6 separate regions of the Homo sapiens genome follow, and regions 2, 3, 4, 5 and 6 are each linked to region 1. The links are contacts of gene promoters, found by promoter capture Hi-C in blood cells and fetal thymus (Javierre and others, 2016). All regions are on one chromosome and are shown on one strand. Each heading gives the region's core, a stretch centred on a gene start or on the middle of the fragment in contact. The rest is flanking DNA. Distances are from core to core; before and after follow the strand shown. Region 1 holds the start of PACS2 (phosphofurin acidic cluster sorting protein 2). Region 2 has its middle 7.1 kb from the start of VESTAR. Region 3 has its middle 10 kb from the start of PLD4. Region 4 holds the start of CLBA1 (clathrin binding box of aftiphilin containing 1). Region 5 overlaps CDCA4 (cell division cycle associated 4). Region 6 overlaps GPR132 (G protein-coupled receptor 132).

The links. Contacts are between HindIII fragments. The CHiCAGO score rates a contact against its expected background, and 5 or more counts as called.
Region 2: a fragment that was not itself captured here is called in contact with the fragment with the promoter of PACS2 in region 1 in 1 of 17 cell types (non-activated CD4 T cells); the score reaches 6.4 in non-activated CD4 T cells.
Region 3: a fragment that was not itself captured here is called in contact with the fragment with the promoter of PACS2 in region 1 in 7 of 17 cell types (total CD8 T cells, naive CD4 T cells, non-activated CD4 T cells and 4 more); the score reaches 7.3 in total CD8 T cells.
Region 4: the fragment with the promoter of CLBA1 here is called in contact with the fragment with the promoter of PACS2 in region 1 in 2 of 17 cell types (neutrophils and naive B cells); the score reaches 6.2 in neutrophils.
Region 5: a contact is called between a fragment that was not itself captured here and the fragment with the promoter of PACS2 in region 1, in 5 of 17 cell types (neutrophils, non-activated CD4 T cells, naive CD4 T cells and 2 more). The highest score is 7.9, in neutrophils.
Region 6: a fragment that was not itself captured here is called in contact with the fragment with the promoter of PACS2 in region 1 in 10 of 17 cell types (naive CD8 T cells, non-activated CD4 T cells, total CD8 T cells and 7 more); the score reaches 10.7 in naive CD8 T cells.

The regions. Positions count from the first base shown.
Region 1 is chr14:105,313,448-105,316,099 of GRCh38, forward strand. PACS2 (phosphofurin acidic cluster sorting protein 2) reads left to right here and starts at 1,301. Exons shown (of 25, transcript NM_001100913.3): 1 at 1,301-1,590. The coding sequence starts at 1,472. It also overlaps a transcript of BRF1 not described here. RefSeq lists silencers at 663-752, 853-1,382, 1,523-1,612, 1,843-1,922 and an enhancer at 1,667-2,318. The HindIII fragment of the contact is 4,816 bases long and covers 1-2,652 here.
Region 2 is chr14:104,826,962-104,829,613 of GRCh38, forward strand. No RefSeq gene overlaps it. Among named protein-coding and RNA genes, the nearest start is that of VESTAR, 7.1 kb to the left of the region's middle. RefSeq lists enhancers at 1-690, 691-1,476. The HindIII fragment of the contact is 1,343 bases long and covers 685-2,027 here.
Region 3 is chr14:104,933,724-104,936,375 of GRCh38, forward strand. It overlaps a transcript of PLD4 not described here. Among named protein-coding and RNA genes, the nearest start is that of PLD4, 10 kb to the left of the region's middle. The HindIII fragment of the contact is 190 bases long and covers 1,203-1,392 here.
Region 4 is chr14:104,984,485-104,987,136 of GRCh38, forward strand. It overlaps CLBA1 (clathrin binding box of aftiphilin containing 1), which reads left to right and starts at 1,304. Exons shown (of 5, transcript NM_174891.4): 1 at 1,304-2,370. The coding sequence starts at 1,948. RefSeq lists a silencer at 1,093-1,562. The HindIII fragment of the contact is 10,527 bases long and covers 1-2,652 here.
Region 5 is chr14:105,012,713-105,015,364 of GRCh38, forward strand. The region is part of intron 1 of CDCA4 (cell division cycle associated 4); the gene reads right to left. Among named protein-coding and RNA genes, the nearest start is that of CDCA4, 7.0 kb to the right of the region's middle. The HindIII fragment of the contact is 5,093 bases long and covers 1-2,652 here.
Region 6 is chr14:105,053,341-105,055,992 of GRCh38, forward strand. GPR132 (G protein-coupled receptor 132) reads right to left here. Exons shown (of 4, transcript NM_013345.4): 3 at 2,047-2,652. The coding sequence starts at 2,080. LOC124903398 (a long non-coding RNA gene) reads left to right here. Exons shown (of 2, transcript XR_007064368.1): 2 at 2,069-2,437. Among named protein-coding and RNA genes, the nearest start is that of GPR132, 11 kb to the right of the region's middle. RefSeq lists an enhancer at 2,270-2,652. The HindIII fragment of the contact is 5,027 bases long and covers 1-2,652 here.

The DNA.
Region 1 (2,652 bases), core at 51-2,550:
AGCCAGGGGCGCGTGGGAAACACAGAGTCCCTTGTTCTCTCCGAAGTGGGACCCTGACTTTAAGCAGTCGCAGCTGTTTGCAGTTCTAGATACAGGAGTTACAGCTGGAGGCTGAGCTCTCTCAACGGAGGAAGCAGCGGCATGAGGGCCTTTGCAGAAGGAGCTGACGGGGCACTGGGGTGGCAAGCCCCGTGGGCCAGGAAAGAAACCAGCTCCAGGTCAATTTGCTCGGGCTGGATTTGTTTCAGTAAAACTACTTGTAGACAAGACACAGGGCGAAGAGAAAAGCAACTGTAAACTAACTGTGAAACAAGGAAACAGAAGAGAGGCCAGAAAACCGTTTCCTAAATCTCGGCTTGGCATCTGGTGCTGGACCACAGCCGCTGCCAAACAGATGGGGGAAGCACCCTCCCTGAGCCCCAGAGCCTACACGTCGGGCCCCAGCGGCTCTAGCCATTGCCTCCTCTTTGCTTGGGTCCCCAAGTTCACTGTTAACCCCAGGGCCAGGAGCCAGCCTTGGCCCCAGACATTTGTTCTCCATTGTCCTGAGCACAACGCTGAAAAGCGGCGCTGAATAAGGATGCTGGGACGCAAAGAGGGCGCCCGGGGTCATCTGGAGCCCTGGAGGCTAAGCTCGGCAGCCTGGCGCCCCGAGTGGCTTCGAGTCCCCGCGACCGCCGCCAGGCCCGGCCACCTCCTTGCCACCTCCCTGCGTCCCGGGGAACCCACGCAGGGGGGCGCGAGGGAGGGGCTCGGGGACGGGCGGGGCCCGCACAGCCGGGCCAACCCAGCGGGGGTCGGCAGGAGACAAGGGGCGGCGAGGGCAGGGGGGCGGGGAGACTCGGGGCATGGCGGGGTGGAGGCGGGAAAGTGTCGAGGCCGGGGAATCCGCGCGTGGGGAGGTGGGCATCGCCAGGGCGACGATGAGCTTTCCTTAGGGGGCGGCGCCTGAAGCTGGCCGGGACCCGGTGGACCCCCACGACTCTCCCGGCCCTTGCCCGCGGCTCCCGGGGGGCGGGGCGGGGCGCCCCGGGCGGGGTCTGTGCGCAGGCGCGTGAGTGCGCGCTCTCGCGCACCGGCGGGCGGGGACGCCCCGTGAGGCGCCGCCGGAGGAAGCGCGCGCGCACCTCACTTCCGGCGCGCGCTGCGCCGGCGGCGATTGGACCCGAGGCGGCGAGCTGGCGCCCCGCCCAGCCAATCGGCGGCGCCGGCGCGGGTCGGAGGGCGCCGGGCGCGCGCGGGGCGGCCGGGGGCGCGCGGGGCGCGGGCGGGGCGCCGGGCGGGGCGGGGCGGAGCGGCCGCAGCTCGTCGCCGCCCGCGGGCCTGTCCGACGCCGGGGCCCGGCCCGTCCCCTCCGCCGCCCGGCAGCCATGTGACCGCGCCGCCGCCCTCCGCGCGCCCGGCCCGCCCGCCGCGCGTCCGCGGCCCGGCCGCAGCCCCAGGCCGCCGAGGGAGCGGCGGGGCCGGCGCCATGGCCGAGCGAGGCCGCCTCGGCCTCCCCGGCGCGCCCGGCGCGCTCAACACGCCCGTGCCCATGAACCTGTTCGCCACCTGGGAGGTGGACGGCTCCAGCCCCAGCTGCGTGCCCAGGTACGCGCCGCCCGCCGCGCTTTGTTCCCGCCGGGCACCTGCTGGGGGTGTCCTGGCCGCGGCCTCTGCGCGCCCCATCCCCGGCCCGGGTCCCCCAGCGGAGCCCAGGTCGCCCCCCGCGCCCCCGCCCGCCGGTTCGACGCGTGCAGCCGCCGCCCCCCCGCAGCTCCGGCAAGCGCGGCCCCAGCCCCCCAGGTCCCGAGCACCGGGGGCCGCGCTCAGCTTCCGAGGACCCGGTGCTGCTCAGACCCGGCGGGACCTTGGGGCTCCCGGGCGGCGCTCACCTGGCTCGCCGCAACCGCACCTGCACACCTGCCTCAATGCGGTGCCGGCCGGGGTGACGAGGGTGCTTCCTCTCTCGGGTACCACACGCTTCCTTTCGCGTTCGGCGACACTGTCAGACCTCGGCCTGGGAGCGACCCCCGGCGCACGGGGCGCGCAGGACTCGGTTGTATCCTCCGTCCAGCGCGCGGTGGAGATGCCCTGTCCTGCGGGGCGGGGTCGTCCTCGCGGGTACCTGGTTGGCGCTGTCTCTCATTTAGAGGCGTCGCCAAGCCAGTACTGCTATTTGCGCCTCCCAGTTGATCTTGCCATTGCGGAAGACTGGCTGTTCTGCACTTGGTAGGGGGGCGCCCGGTCGCCCAGCGGTAACGATTGGACAGGGTTTACCCTCCGGCCATAGCCCAGCCTTCCTTGGACTTGCAGCTTCCCTGAGTCTCCTGCTCAGTTTGAAACTTTTGTAATTTCTTCGTGACTTGGTAGTTCCTGCTCAGGAAGCTCCCAGGCTAAGGAGGAGAGAGACACGCTCTCCGGAAAAGTTCTGGTTCTAGAATAGACAGCAGGCGAGAAGAGGAGGCGGTTGGGGGTAGTGAGAGTTCTCCCTGGGGAGATGGGAGGGTGAGCGGACCTTCCAGGCACTGGAAGTGGCCAGTATGCCTGGAGGGGACCCCACGTGGCATTGAGTTGTTCCACCCCTAGTCAGCTGCAGGTGGGCCTCTCCGTGCTTTCCTGTGGCTCCCACAGCCTGCATCTCTGAGCGTGGTGTTGGAGTTGCAGAGCCGC
Region 2 (2,652 bases), core at 106-2,605, 490 kb before region 1:
GCTCGGAGGATGGCCCCGGGCTCCCAGGGAAGCTGGAAGGGCGTCGGGGGAGGTGACGGCGCGGAGACCTCGGACTCTCAGTCCTGCAGGGGCCGCGGACACAGGTGGGGAGGAGTGGGGGAGTTTTTCCCTGGGAGAAATGGGAAGCGTCGAAGGATTTTAAGGAGTGCGGCTGGTCGGGTTTGCATTCGGGGAGGTCGCTTTGTCTCTTGAGTGGAGAATGAGGAGGTGGCAACAGCAGGGGAGTCACCGGGAGGCTGCTCGGGTCCAGCTCAAAAACGCCAGGCCCGCCCCCGCCCCGCAGGTCCGCGGGAAGGAAGGAAAAGGCGTTGGGGATGCGTAGGAGGCAGAGGCCTTGGTGGTCGATCCGGTGTGGAGTGGGGCAGGGGCTGCGAGGAGGGCGCCCAGGACTGGTATCAGTGAACAGTGACGGTGGGGCAGGGCGGTGACCTTAGCACCAGCGCTTCGGTGGGGGGGAGGAAGCACCTGAGCCGCGGAGAAAGGCCTGCGTGAGGTGGGCACAGGCTGGCGTTGAAGCCCTGGGGTGGACTCACGTCCAGGGGAGGGCGGTGCTTCACACGTCCCAGGCACTGTCTTGTGTGGCCCCAAGTGCTGTCTGAATCTCTCCTGCGTCTTGGGCCCCAGCACCAACAGCCGTCGCCCTGGAGCCAGGCAGCAGCCTTAAGCTTCCCTGGGAGGCTGACTGGCTGGGAGCAGGGAGGTCCCATCGGGGAAGTAGGGGCGTGCAGGGGGCTTGGCGCCTGCAGTCCTGGAGGGGCAGGGCAGATGATAAGGCTAAGTACCTCCTGTCCTTTGCTCAGCCAGCCACTAGGAGGAGGCCGCAGAGAAGAAGCCGCCAGGGGCTGGGGGAGGCCAGGGACGGGGCAGGGAGGAGGGGCTGGGCTGAATGCAGGTGCCCCAGGAGCTGCGGGCTCTCCTTCCACAGGTTCGTGTCTGGTACACGGCTGGAGAAGGCAGGGAGGGTGGGAGGAGCCTGGCTTGGAGAGAAAGGGCTGGCCGGAGACACCAGAGTGCTCAGGGCAGGGGCGGGAGAGGTGGTCCCTCAGGCCTCAGTGGCAGAGGCATGGGGATCCAGGGCTGAGAGTGAGTCTGTGGTTCATGGGGTTACCAGAAAGGGGTCCTGATCCAGATCCCAAGAGAGGGTTCTTAGATCTCACGCAAGAAAGAATTCAGGGCGAGTCCACAAAGTAAAGCGAAAGCAAATTTATTAAGAAATTAGAGGAATAAAAGAATGGCCACTCCATAGAGCGGGCCAGAGGGCTGCTGGGTGACCATTTTTATGGTTTTATTTTTATTATATGATAAACAAAGGGTGTATTATTCATGACTCTCCTTTTTAGACCATAAGGGGTAACTTCCTGATGTTGCCATGGCATTTGTAAACTCTCATGGTGCTGGTGGGAGTGTAGCAGTGAGGACGACCAGTGGTCACTCTTTTTTTTTTTTTTTTTGAGACAGAGTCTCGCTGTGTCGCCCAGGCTGGAGTGCAGTGACACGATCTTGGCTCACTGCAGGCTCCGTCTCCCGGGTTCACACCTTTCTCCTGCCTCAGCCTCACGCCTGTAATCCCAGCACTTTGGGAGGCCAAGGCAGGCGGATCACGAGGTCAGGAGATTGTGACCATCCTGGCTAACACGTGAAACCCCGTCTCTACTAAAAATTCAAAAAATTAGCCAGGCGTGGTAGCGGGTGCCTGTGGTCCCAGCTACTCGGGAGGCTGAGGCAGGAGAATGGCATGACCCTGGGAGGCAGAGCTTGCAGTGAGCTGAGATCGCGCCACTGCACTCCAGCCTGGGCGACAGAGGGAGACTCCATCTCAAAAAAAAAAAAAAAATTTTAAAAGACCAGGTGCAGTGGCTCACGCCTGTAGTCCCAGCACTTTGGGAGGCCATGGTGAGTGGATTGCTTGAGCCCAGGAGGCAGAGGTTGCAGTGAGCTGAGATGGGGCCACTGCACTCCAGCCTGGGTGACAAAACAAGACCCTGTCTCAAAAAATAAAATATTTAAGCTTATTTTGTGTGTGCTATGGTTTGAATGTTTGTGTCCATCCAAAATTCATATATTGGAACTTAAGTTGCAAAGTGATGGTATTAAGAGGTAGGGCCTTTGGGAGGTGACCAGGGCAGGGCGGACGGGATTAGTGCTCTTACACAAGGGCTTGAGGCAGCGGGTTCTTTTCTTTAGGCCTTTTGGCCCCTTCCTCTATGTGAGGGCACAGCAAGAGGGTGTAATCCCTCCCAGACACCACATCTGCTGGCCTTGACCTAGGACTTCCCCGCCCCTAAAACTGTGAGGAATACATTTTTAGTATTTATAAATTACTCAGTCTGTGGTATTTTATTTATTTATTTGAGATGGAGACCAGCCTGGGCAACATAGTGACACCTCATTTCTTTAAAAACAACAACAAAAAAATTAAGGGAAAATCAGCCAGGCATGGTGGCATGGGCCTGTAGTCCCAGCCACTGGGGAGGCTACAGTGGGAGGATCCCTTGGGTTGGGCCTGGGAGTCCGGGCCATGATGATATCACTGCACTCTAGCCTGGGTGACACAGCAAGACCTTGTCTCAATTAAAAAAAAAGAAAAGAAAAGAAAAGAAAGGCATAGATCTTTACTGCAAGACGCCCACA
Region 3 (2,652 bases), core at 48-2,547, 380 kb before region 1:
CCCGCGGCTGAGGGGACCGGGAGGGCGGGAGGCGACCCGCGGCTGAGTGAGGGGAGGGTGGGAGGGGACCCGCGGCTGAGGGGACAGGGAGGGCGGGAGGGGACCCGCGGCTGAGGGGACCGGGAGGGCGGGAGGCGACCCGGGGCTGAGTGAGGGGAGGGCGGGAGGGGAGCGGGGCTGAGGGGACCGGGAGGGCGGGAGGGGACCTGCGACTGAGGGGACGGGGAGGATGTGAGGCGATCCGGGGCTGAGTGAGGGGAGGGTGGGAGGGGACCCGCGGCTGAGGGGACGGGGAGGGCGGGAGGGGACCCGCGGCTGAGGGGACGGGGAGGGCGGGAGGCGACCCGGGGCTGAGGGGACGGGGAGGGCGGGAGGGGACCCGCGGCTGAGGGGACAGGTCCTGCGTGCGGGCTGGGGAGACAGGCGGGCGAGGGTAGGGGTGCACAAGGCTGTGTGGTTTGTGGGCTGTTGTGCAGGGTGGGTCCAAGCATGTGGGGGCAGGCTTGTCCTGGGGATGCAGTGCCCAGGGTTGGTGGATGGGGCTGAGAGGACCAGCATTTGAGCTGGAGGGCAGGAAGGTGACTCCAGTCTGAGACCAGGACTTGGATGCAGCTCCACTGGAACTCACCCTATCCTGGGAGCCACCTGGGCACCTGTCCTGCAGATGCAGGATTTGAACCCAGGTTTGGCAACTCAGTTCCCACTCTTCTGCTATGAATGCTGGGTCAGAAGGATTCTCAAAACACCCTGGCTTATCTCACCTGATGGTTCCTGACCAAGACCACAGGGTACCCTCCCCTGGTGGAGGTCCATGGGGCCATGCTAGGCTGGAGTTCAGGGATGGCTCAGCGGTATGAAGGAGCACTGGATGCTGAATGGACCCCAGGGTGCCCCGAATGCTCTCCCGGTCTTGAGGCACCACTTTCCTACCCTTCTCTACTTCTCTCCTTTTCCTACCCTTCTCTACTTTTTTCTTTCCTACATTTGTGTCCCTGCCACACTGTGAACTCAGCCATATCTTCCTCTTCCCTCTTTGCTTTGGGGAAAGCTAGCAAAGTTCATCTCAGGTACAGTACAAGTTACTTTTCTGTTCGATTAGTGACCTCATACTTCCCCCATCTAAAGGACACCTTAGACTTCAGCATTCTGTCTGTGCAGAAATCTCCTACACCCATCCTGCCTCCCTGCCCAAGCTTGTGAAAAGCTTGCTGCAGATGCTGCAGGGGGATAGGGATCCACATAGCCCTGCAAGGCCTTCAGGAGCTTCTGGGGGCTGCTTTGTGTGTGAGCTGCACTTGGCCAAGCCAAGCTCTGGCAGTTGCAGTGGCTGCTCCCTGTGGCTTCCTATCCCTCATTCATGCTCCATATCTCCTCAGTAACCATCTGGCAAAAAGCTTCGTGGCAACACCTGGCTCAGAAGCCGATATCATCCCAGACTAAGCTCTGCCCTCCAGGGTTGCACGTGTGGGTTTGCTCCCTGGTTCTTGGCCTTATACCTGAATGTGTCTCAGAGCACTTGGCCTGCTCTCTTGGCCTGCCAACTATGTTCTAGGAGGGCTCTGTGCTCCAGGCTGTGATTTGGACAACTGGCTGGTGGCCCTCAGCCAGTGAAAGGCCTCTTTCCACACACCTGGGGACTGGCAGTCACACCTCAGTGGCACTGACAGAGGCCTGCTTCAAGGCAGATGCCTATTCCAAAGGAAATCCAGCTTGACAAGGCTTGGGAGACCCCAGGAGGGTGCCACAATGTGGCCCCTTCTGGGCTATAGCAGACAGACTCTAGAATGGCTCCCTTGACCCCCACCTGCTGGTATGCATGCCCTTGTGTGATCTCACCTTGAGTGTGTGCAGGACCTGTGCCTTGTTGTAACCAATAGAATACAGAGGTAAGGGGATGTCACTCCTGTGACACCTTGTGATCATGTGACATAAGATTATAACATTATCAAGGAATAGCAGTCTATCCCTTGCTAGCTTTAAAAAGTGAGCTGCTAGGCTATGAGCTGTCCTATGAAGAGGCCCATGTAGCAGGGTACTGGGGTTGCCTCCAGCCCCCAACTAGCAAGAAACTGGGGCCCTCAATCATCCCATCCACAAGGAGTTGAGTGTGGCTAGCAACAACGTGAGCTTCAGAAGTGGCTGCTTTCCTGGTCATACCTGAAGGGGAGACCACAGCCCCAGCTGACATCTTGATTGTAGCCTAATGGGACCTTGAGCAGAGAACCCAACAAAGCCACACTTGGGCTCCTGATCCACAGAAACTGGGAGATCATAAATGTGTGTTGTTTTAAGTTGCTAATTTGTAGTGATGTTCTTATGCAGCATAGATAACTCATACACAGAGAACCAAGGCCACGCGAGAACCCTGTGGGGGCCCCTGCTGCTCAGCCACTCCTCACATGCTGGGACAGCTGTCTCTCTGGCCTCTAGCACCAAGGTCCCCACTATCCCAGGCCTTGACTCTTGGATCAGAGAGGGACAAAAGCCCCATGGAGCCAAGCAGACTCCTCCCCCTGGGCTGCACTCACCTAGCTTGTCTGGCACACACAAGTTGGAGTAGAGAAGGCAGGAAGCCCTGGGAAGGGAGAGGGTGATGGCCTTGCTTAACTGGGATGAGTGTCCACCAAATTTCCCTTCCCACTTCCCCTGCTC
Region 4 (2,652 bases), core at 54-2,553, 330 kb before region 1:
CCCTCAGGAAGGAGCGGGGACAGGAGGCTGGGTCTAAGGTGCAGAGAATGATCTCATCTTGTCATTTGTAAAATTAAATTGTTCTGTAGCTTGGCTGAGAAGGACCAGGGAGGGAAGGGGTGATTCAAGCAAGGACAGAGTCCAGGCAGGGCCCCAGGCCCCAGGGTGGGAGAAATGCGAGCCTGAGGTAGATAGGGGGTGGACAGTAGGTGGCATGGTTCAGGGCTTCACCAGGGCCAGGCCCTCCCCTTACCCAGAGGAGGCAGTGATGGGGGCCAGTCTGGGAAGGCCAGGGAGGAGATGGAGTCAAGGTTGACTCCTTGAGTCTGGGGGTGAGGGCAGATGGCAGAAGGCCTGGAAGCCCGGAGGGGAGCTGCCAGAGGCCAGCCTAGCTCCTTGGTCGTCCAGTGGCTGGAGAGGGGCTGTCCGTCAGCCCTGCTCTGCCCGGGTCTGGCTGGTGACAAAGGAGGGGAGCACTCCATGCGGCCTGCGAGGGAGGGGTGGAGCCTCCCCGCAGCTCCTTCCCCCAGGAATGGGGACGAGTTAGGGGCGGGCGAGGTTTTGGGATTCAGGAGTCAGCAAGACGGACTTGGCTCTCGCCAGGGACAGGTGGGGTCCTGAGGGGCCGTCGCTCAGCTGCACCCACAGAGGGGTCGGCGGCGCGGCAAGTTAGGCTGCGGGGCGCCGGGAGAAGGGGCTGCGGGTGACGGGTGCGCTGGGACGGACCTGGGGAGCTCGTCGTGAGGAAGAAAGAACCACTCTAGGGCCAGGCCCAGTGGCTCAAGCCTGTAATCCCAGCACTTTGGGAGGCCGAGGCGGGCGGATCACGAGGTCAGGAAATCGAGACCATCCTGGCTAACACGGTGAAACCCAGTCTCTATTAAAATACAAAAAAATCAGCCGGGCGTGGTGGCGGGCGCCTGTAGTCCCAGCTACTCGGGAGGCTGAGGCAGGAGAATGGCGTGAACCCGGGAGGCGGAGCTTGCAGTGAGTCGAGATCGCGCCACTGCTCTCCAGCCTGGGCGACAGAGCGAGACTCCGTCTCAAAAAAAAAAGAAAAAAAAAAAAAAGAAAGAACCACTCGGGCGGCGAACTGAGCACGGACAGAAAGCTCGAGCGGCCCGGCGCCCAGGGCTCGGCCAGTGTGGAAGCCCGATCCCACCCGCAGCGGAGGCGGCCCGGGGCAGGGAGGGCGGGTCCGGGGCGGGTCCTGAACGGCGGGGGCCGGCGCTGGCCTCGCCCCGGATGCGTGCTGACGCCACGGCGACGGACGCCGGAAGCGGAGCTGGCGCACGCCGTTGCCAGGCAACGGGGCGGCGCAGGCAGGAGGGAACGGCTGGTTGCAGGTTTCTCTCGCCCTGGTCCCGCGCGGCCCCGCCGAGGCGGCGACCAAGGTGGGTGCGGGGACTCTCGGGAGCCGTGGGCCAGGCGCTTAGCCGGCCACCTCGGGCCCTGTCCAGGCCCAGGCGTTCCAGGGCTGCTCTGCGGGCCGCGTGCGAGAGGGACTCTCGGGAGGCCCCGGGGCGCCGCACCCACTCCTTCCCACTTGGGACTCCCGCGGGCGCCCGGCTCTCGCTCCTCTGGCCAGCGTGGGCCTCCCAGGCCCCCTCGCGGCTCTCTCCAGAGCAGGAGCCCCACCTTGGGCCGCCCCTCTCACACCTGCCGTGGGTCTGGTACGCGCCTCTGTGTCGGACTCCGCGCCCGCCTGCGTGGGAGGAAGCCAGGACTCCCGGGCGACCGGGCCATTCCTGTGGTTTGTGTCAGTTCCACAGCAGCACGTGGGCACTTTCCACCGTCAGCCACTGGGCAGCCCGGGGCACTCCTGCAGCGTCCCCTGGCCCTCTCCAGGGCAGGGGAAGGTTGGGCAGTCCTGGGCGGCCAGCACCCCGGCGTGCATGTCTCCTGAGCAGCTGCCCATCGGGCCTCTGCTGGCCTGGGGGCTCCAAGATGCAAGGCCGGCGGGAGCTGGGGGGAGAGCCTTTGAGTGACCTCCAGGAGGAAGCAGCCAGCGCTTCCCTCCGAGTGGCACCTGAGAGGCTGAGTGATGACAGTTTGGAATGGAGACGGACCTGCCCCGACCTTCTCCTGTCCGATGGGAAAGCCAGCATCTCCATGCCCCGTGAGGGCGGTTCCACCTGCACTGCCCGATGTCCTGACCCTGGGGAACACAGCAGCACTTGGGGGGAGTTTGAAGGCTTTCGGGAATCTTCAGCCAAGTCTGGACAATTCTCACAGTCCCTTGAACTCCTCGAGGGACCCACAGAACCCCAGCCACCGAGAACCACTTCTGCCCCAAAAGAGTGCAGTTCTCACCAACCATGCCAGGGTGGACCTTGGGTGACAGGAACTTCTGCCGTCCCACCTTCTGAGGTATTTCTGCTGTGCTGTGGTCACCATGTTGAGTGGGACGTGTACACACCAAGAGGCCTACAGCCCTCGAATGCTGTGGCGTGCTGGCCAGGGAGGGGGCTGACAGCCCCAGAGCGTCTGCTTCTCTCCTGGCCTTCGTCCCTGGCCATGTGGTTGGCAGTCCCATCCTGAGGCCAGGGAAGCAATGAGTTGGCAGAGGAGGCTGCAGAAATGGGTCACACGAAGGCCAGGTGGGGGCCACCTGAGCTGGGTCGCTCTTTCTGACCATTCCTCCCCCAGCCT
Region 5 (2,652 bases), core at 42-2,541, 300 kb before region 1:
GGGATCACACCCATTCCTTGGCTCCCCCCACCCGCCCCACCAGTTCATTTCTCCCAAGGTGCACAGGCTCTGCCTGGCTGCTTTCTACTTGACATCTCTCAGGTCAATGCCCTCCACTCGAGAGCTCTGACCAGCCCGTACAACCATGGCCTCAGGGGCCACCTCCCCTCTCATCTCAACTCCTTTCTCTTCAAAGGAACCAAAACATGGCAGGGTATGTGTGTGTCCGGGGCAGGGGGGGTGGGTTCCTCACCAGTGTGTTGTGGCAGCCCAGAGCTGGCCAAGGCAGTGTTTCTCGGCGTATGCCTCAGCACTGGCGCTGTTGGTTGAAGATGCAGATTCCTGGATCTTACCCCAGACCTGGGCAACTCCGGGATGGCACCTAAGGCTCAGCCTTGCTGGGCAGGTTCCACTAAGACGCACAGCACAGATGCACTAGATGGACATTGGCCATGTCTACTCTCAGAAGTACAAGTCTGTGCAAACTGTTTTTTTTTTTTTTTAACTGATTCTAAATTGGGACATCTCTGGGGCACTAAAGGCAGAGCAGACAGGAGGGTGGGCTCTGGCTTTTGACAGATGCCATTCTGAGCCAGTGCCGCCTGCGGGGAGCTGGGAGGATGACAGCTGGCTCAGGGCCATACTGGCCGGCAGAGTCTGACAGGACAAGCATCTCACGCATGATTAAGTTTCTCTCTTCTCATGCTTGTAATGTAGTGAAATATTATTTCAAATAATTCAAGTTATGCATAAATAGGGTTACAATCTTTTGAATATGCAAACTTTGGAACTTCTTTTTCTCTTAGTCAATCTGATGGCTCCCTGTGACCAGGGTATACCCAGGTGCTCTTGGAAAGCTGGCGTATGGGAGGCACATGCTGTCTCTGCTCGGGGTCTGGAGACCAAGGATGGGAAGTTTTGCAGTGCGGGAGAACTGGCTGCCAAACATACCCCTTCCCAGGAGCCCCTCTGGAGGCTCCCACCTGCTGGTCCTACCCTTGAATTAACAGAAGAAAGGGTCCCCCTGTTCTCTGAATTTCCCTTCAGTGTCACAGATCTCATCCCCGTGCCTTTAACACATGTAAATTTTAAAAAACTAAGTGACCTCTTGGGCATTTATCCCAGAGAAAAAGCCAATGTTCATGCAAAAAACATGTTCCAGAATGTGCACAGCAGCTTTATTTGTAGTAGCTCCAAATCTGAAACAAGGAAAATGTACCCTTCACCTGGGCACGGTGACACACACTCTGCTCCATTCATGCCACCAAATCCTACTCTGCAATAGAAAGAAATGAACTGTTGATACACAGGACGGATCCTTCCACAGGGGCATTAGGCTGAGGGAGAAAAGCCAACCTCAGAAGGGTGCTTGCTATGGGATCCCATTTATGCCACATTGTCATGCTGACCCAGAGCTGAGGGGTGGCAGGGCTAGAAAGGAACCTGCGCAGGGAGATCTTGGGGGTGAGGGCCCTTCTGCTCCTGGGCTGTGGGGGTGGCCCTACCCTGACTGCACAGCGCCGGACACGCACACATGCGCCTGCGGCAGCCGTGTCATCACACGGACCTGGGGCCTGGCTGTGCATCCTACAAGGATGCCGGCCCTGGGGAGCAGAGGAAGGGCACATAGGACCTCCTGAACACTGCTCTGCAACCTCCCCTGGCTCTACAATTATTTCAAAATTAAAATTAAAGGAAAACTTCCCTAACCCTAGCTTATTTCCCCTACAGCACCCATTTCCCCAGAGCAGCATGCCAGTGTCACCACAGGCACAGCCCTCAGGCTGGGCACCGCCTCTCACACCTGCATACACCAGCTTCTCAACTAATTCTAAATGAAGGACAGTTTACCACCAAAACACATTTACACATTTCTATTACTTTTGGTAAATATTCGAGTTCTTTGTGTCAGCCACAAATTTAACTTTTCAGAGCTTTTCCATCCCAATCCATTGTTTAAATCACTGGCTTAAAATTGCTAAGTATATCGAGAATTAACATAAGGCTATGTCAAACTACAAAGGACACCCTGCGTTGGGGAAAAGATTAAGTCCCACGGGTTCCTCTGTGGGAAGTCAATATACCTTTTAGGTTTTTAGTTTCTCTTTCAACCTATCTCAATCCCAAGCCTGCATAGCAATGGATTAATTTAGGACCCAAACCAAATCCTCTTGAACAGCATGCATTAAGCCCAAGTTTATAGACAGAAGAACCCCTGGCTGCCTCCCCTGACTCTGGAAACCCAGCAGCACAACCCCCATAATGTGGGGCCTACAGGAGGTCAGCACGACTGAGCAGGGCAATCAGGGCAACTCACAGAAGGAACAAGAATACCAATGGGACAGGCCAAGAAGACCCACAACCACACTGGGAACCAGTTCAAGAAGCTGTCCCAAGCTCCTAGGACCCTCTGGGTCCCACTTTCCTTTCCTCTGAGTCCTTAGAAATGCCAGGTCCTGAGTCCAAACCCAACGACAGACCCTCCCGCCCTTTTCTGAAAGCCAGATATGGATACTAGAAGCCTCCCACTGGGGATCTTAAGAGGATGAATTCAGTGCTTGGCCTGGTGCTGTCAGCGGTCCTAAGGGCAGCACTAGCAATACGTGACCGTCAGAAATCACCCTAATAACATCTGCTCTGAGCGAGGGAATA
Region 6 (2,652 bases), core at 107-2,606, 260 kb before region 1:
GTAGAGATGGGGTTTCTCCATGTTGGTCAGGCTTATCTTGAACTCCCGACCTCAGGTGATCTGCCCTCCTTGGCCTCCCAAAGTGCTGGGATTACAGGCGTGAGCCACTGCGCCCGGCTAATCTGTAGTCTTACCACATATTTGCCTGTGTGAACTATCAATTACTAAAAAAGATAATTATAAGCTCCTGTGGGAGTGGTGGATTTGTCCACCTCTCCTTGTATTCTCCCAGTGCTTGCTTTACGTATTTGAAGCTACTGTGAATTGGGGCATAGGAGTCACAGATGGTTCTGTCTTCTTGGTGAATTGATCCTCTTATTACTATGTCATGTGATACCCCTCCTCTCGGTGGCAGGAGACTAATGACCCCACCCAAAAGATGTCTGAATCCTAATCCTTGGGACATGTAGATATGGCAGGTTACACGGGAAAGGGGAACTAAGGTTGCAAGTTGAATGAAGGTTGCTAACTAGCTGACAGTAAAATAAAGAGATTATTCTGGACTATCTGGTGGGCCCAATGGAATCACAAAAGTCCTTAAATGTGGGAGAGGGCAAAAGAAAAGGAGATCAAAGTGATCTCAGCAACCTGCCTCAAACACAGCTCTCCGAGGTCAGAAACTCATCCTTTCCAGCCAGGGGGTTGCTAGAGGTCACGCAGGGTGTGCAGTGGTGTGACTTCCCCAAGCTCTGCCAGCGCCACCAGCTCCAGTGTCCTGGCTGCCCACTCTGGCTGAGTTCATGCTTCTGGGCCTTCTGTGGTTACAGATCATGGAGTCCCACCTCCAGGTCAGCAGGAAGCCGCAGACAGACCTGGCCTCAGCACCTGACGGACGGACAGAGCGTTGCCAAACTTATTGGGCCACAGCAGCCCCGGGCGGGGCAAACTTCAGCTGTGCCCTGGCGCGAGGTCAGGGGTCCCTGGGCACTGTCCAGCCCGCTGGCCTCAGGAACCTTCCACATGCAAATGTCGTAGTTTCCTTGACCTCCCTCCTGTACTTGAGGGCCTGTTGACCTCCAGCACGATGGGGCAAGTCACCCCGAACGGGGTCAGCCCTGCGGCCCCATTGTGTCGCTCTTTTTTTTTCTTTTTTTTTTTTTTGAGACGTAGTCTCAAAAAACTGTGTTGATGCCCAGGCTGGAGTGCAGTGGCGTGATCTCTGCTACTGCAACCTCTGCCTCCCAAGTTCAAGTGATTCTCCTGCCTCAGCCTCCCGAGTAGCTGGGACTACAGGCACTCGCCACCACGCCCATCTAATTTTTGTAGTTTTAGTAGAGACAAGGTTTCACCAGGTTGGCCAGGCTGGTCTTGAACTCCTGACCTTGGGTGATCTGCCCACCTTGGCCTCCCAAAGTGCTGGGATTACAGGTGTGAGCCACCATGCCAGGCCACTTGTTTTTGTGCATTTAAAAAATTCAGCTGGGCGCAGTGGCTCACGCCTGTAATCCCAGCACTTTGGGAGGCCAGGGTGGGGAGATCACTAGAGGTCAGGCGTTCGAGACCAGCCTGGCTAACCTGGTGAAAACTCGTCTCTACTAAAAATACAAAAATTAGACAGGCGTGGTGGCAGGTGCCTGCAGTCCCAGCTACTTGGGAGGCTGAGGCAGGAGAATGGTGTGAACCCGGAAGGCAGAGATTGCGCCACTGCACTCCAGCCAGGGCAACAGAGCAAGACTCCATCTCAAAAAAAAAAAAAAAAAAAAAATTCGGCCCCATGGGCCGTTCATTCCTTCAATCCCAACGCTTTGGAAGGACAAGGCAGGTGGATCACCCGAGGTCTGGAGTTCCAGACCAGCCTGACCAACATGGTGAAATCCCATCTCTATTAAAAATACAAATATTAGCCAGGCGTGGTGGGCACCTGTAATCCCAGCTACTTGGGAGGCTGATGCAGGAGAATCCCTTGAACCTGGGAGGCAGAAGCTGCAGTGAGCCGAGATTGTGCCACTGCACTCCAGCCTGGGCGATAGAGTGAGACTCAATCGCAAGAAAAAAAAATTGAAAAAGTGGAAAATTGTGGCAAAATACACATAACAAGGAATTTACCATTGTAACCGTTTTTCAGTAGCATTGGGCACATTCACATTCTTCTGCAACCATCGCCAGCATCCGTCGGCAGAACCTTCTCATCTTCCCAAACGGAGACTCTGCCCCAGGAAGCACTCGCTCCGCATTTGCTCCCAGCCCCCAGGCCTCCATTCCACTTTGTCTCTGTGCGCTGGGCTCCCCTGTCACCTCCCCACGTGGGTGGGCATCTCTGCGTGTCTTCAGCGTGTGTCCTTCCGTGTCTCACGTGCTCCACTCACCACAGTGTCCTCAAGCTCCCTCCTGTTGCAGCGTGTGCCAGGATTTCCCTTCCTTTCAAAGGCGGGATGGTATTCCATTGTATTCAGTGTGTCCTCCAGGGTCTCGCCAAAAATATAAATATATATATATATTCCACTGTGCCCTTCCATCTTGAGCAATCCTGCACGTGTGGCGTGTGGCGTGTGGCGTGTGGCGTGTTCTGCTCAGCCACGACTCCGCTGACAGACGCTCGGCTGCCTCTGTGCCTTAGCTGAGCTGCTGAGAATGACGGTGTCAAGAACATGAGGAGGGCTGTTCACGTCCCTGCTTTCCGTTCTCCTGGGTCAGACCCACAGTTGGCATTGC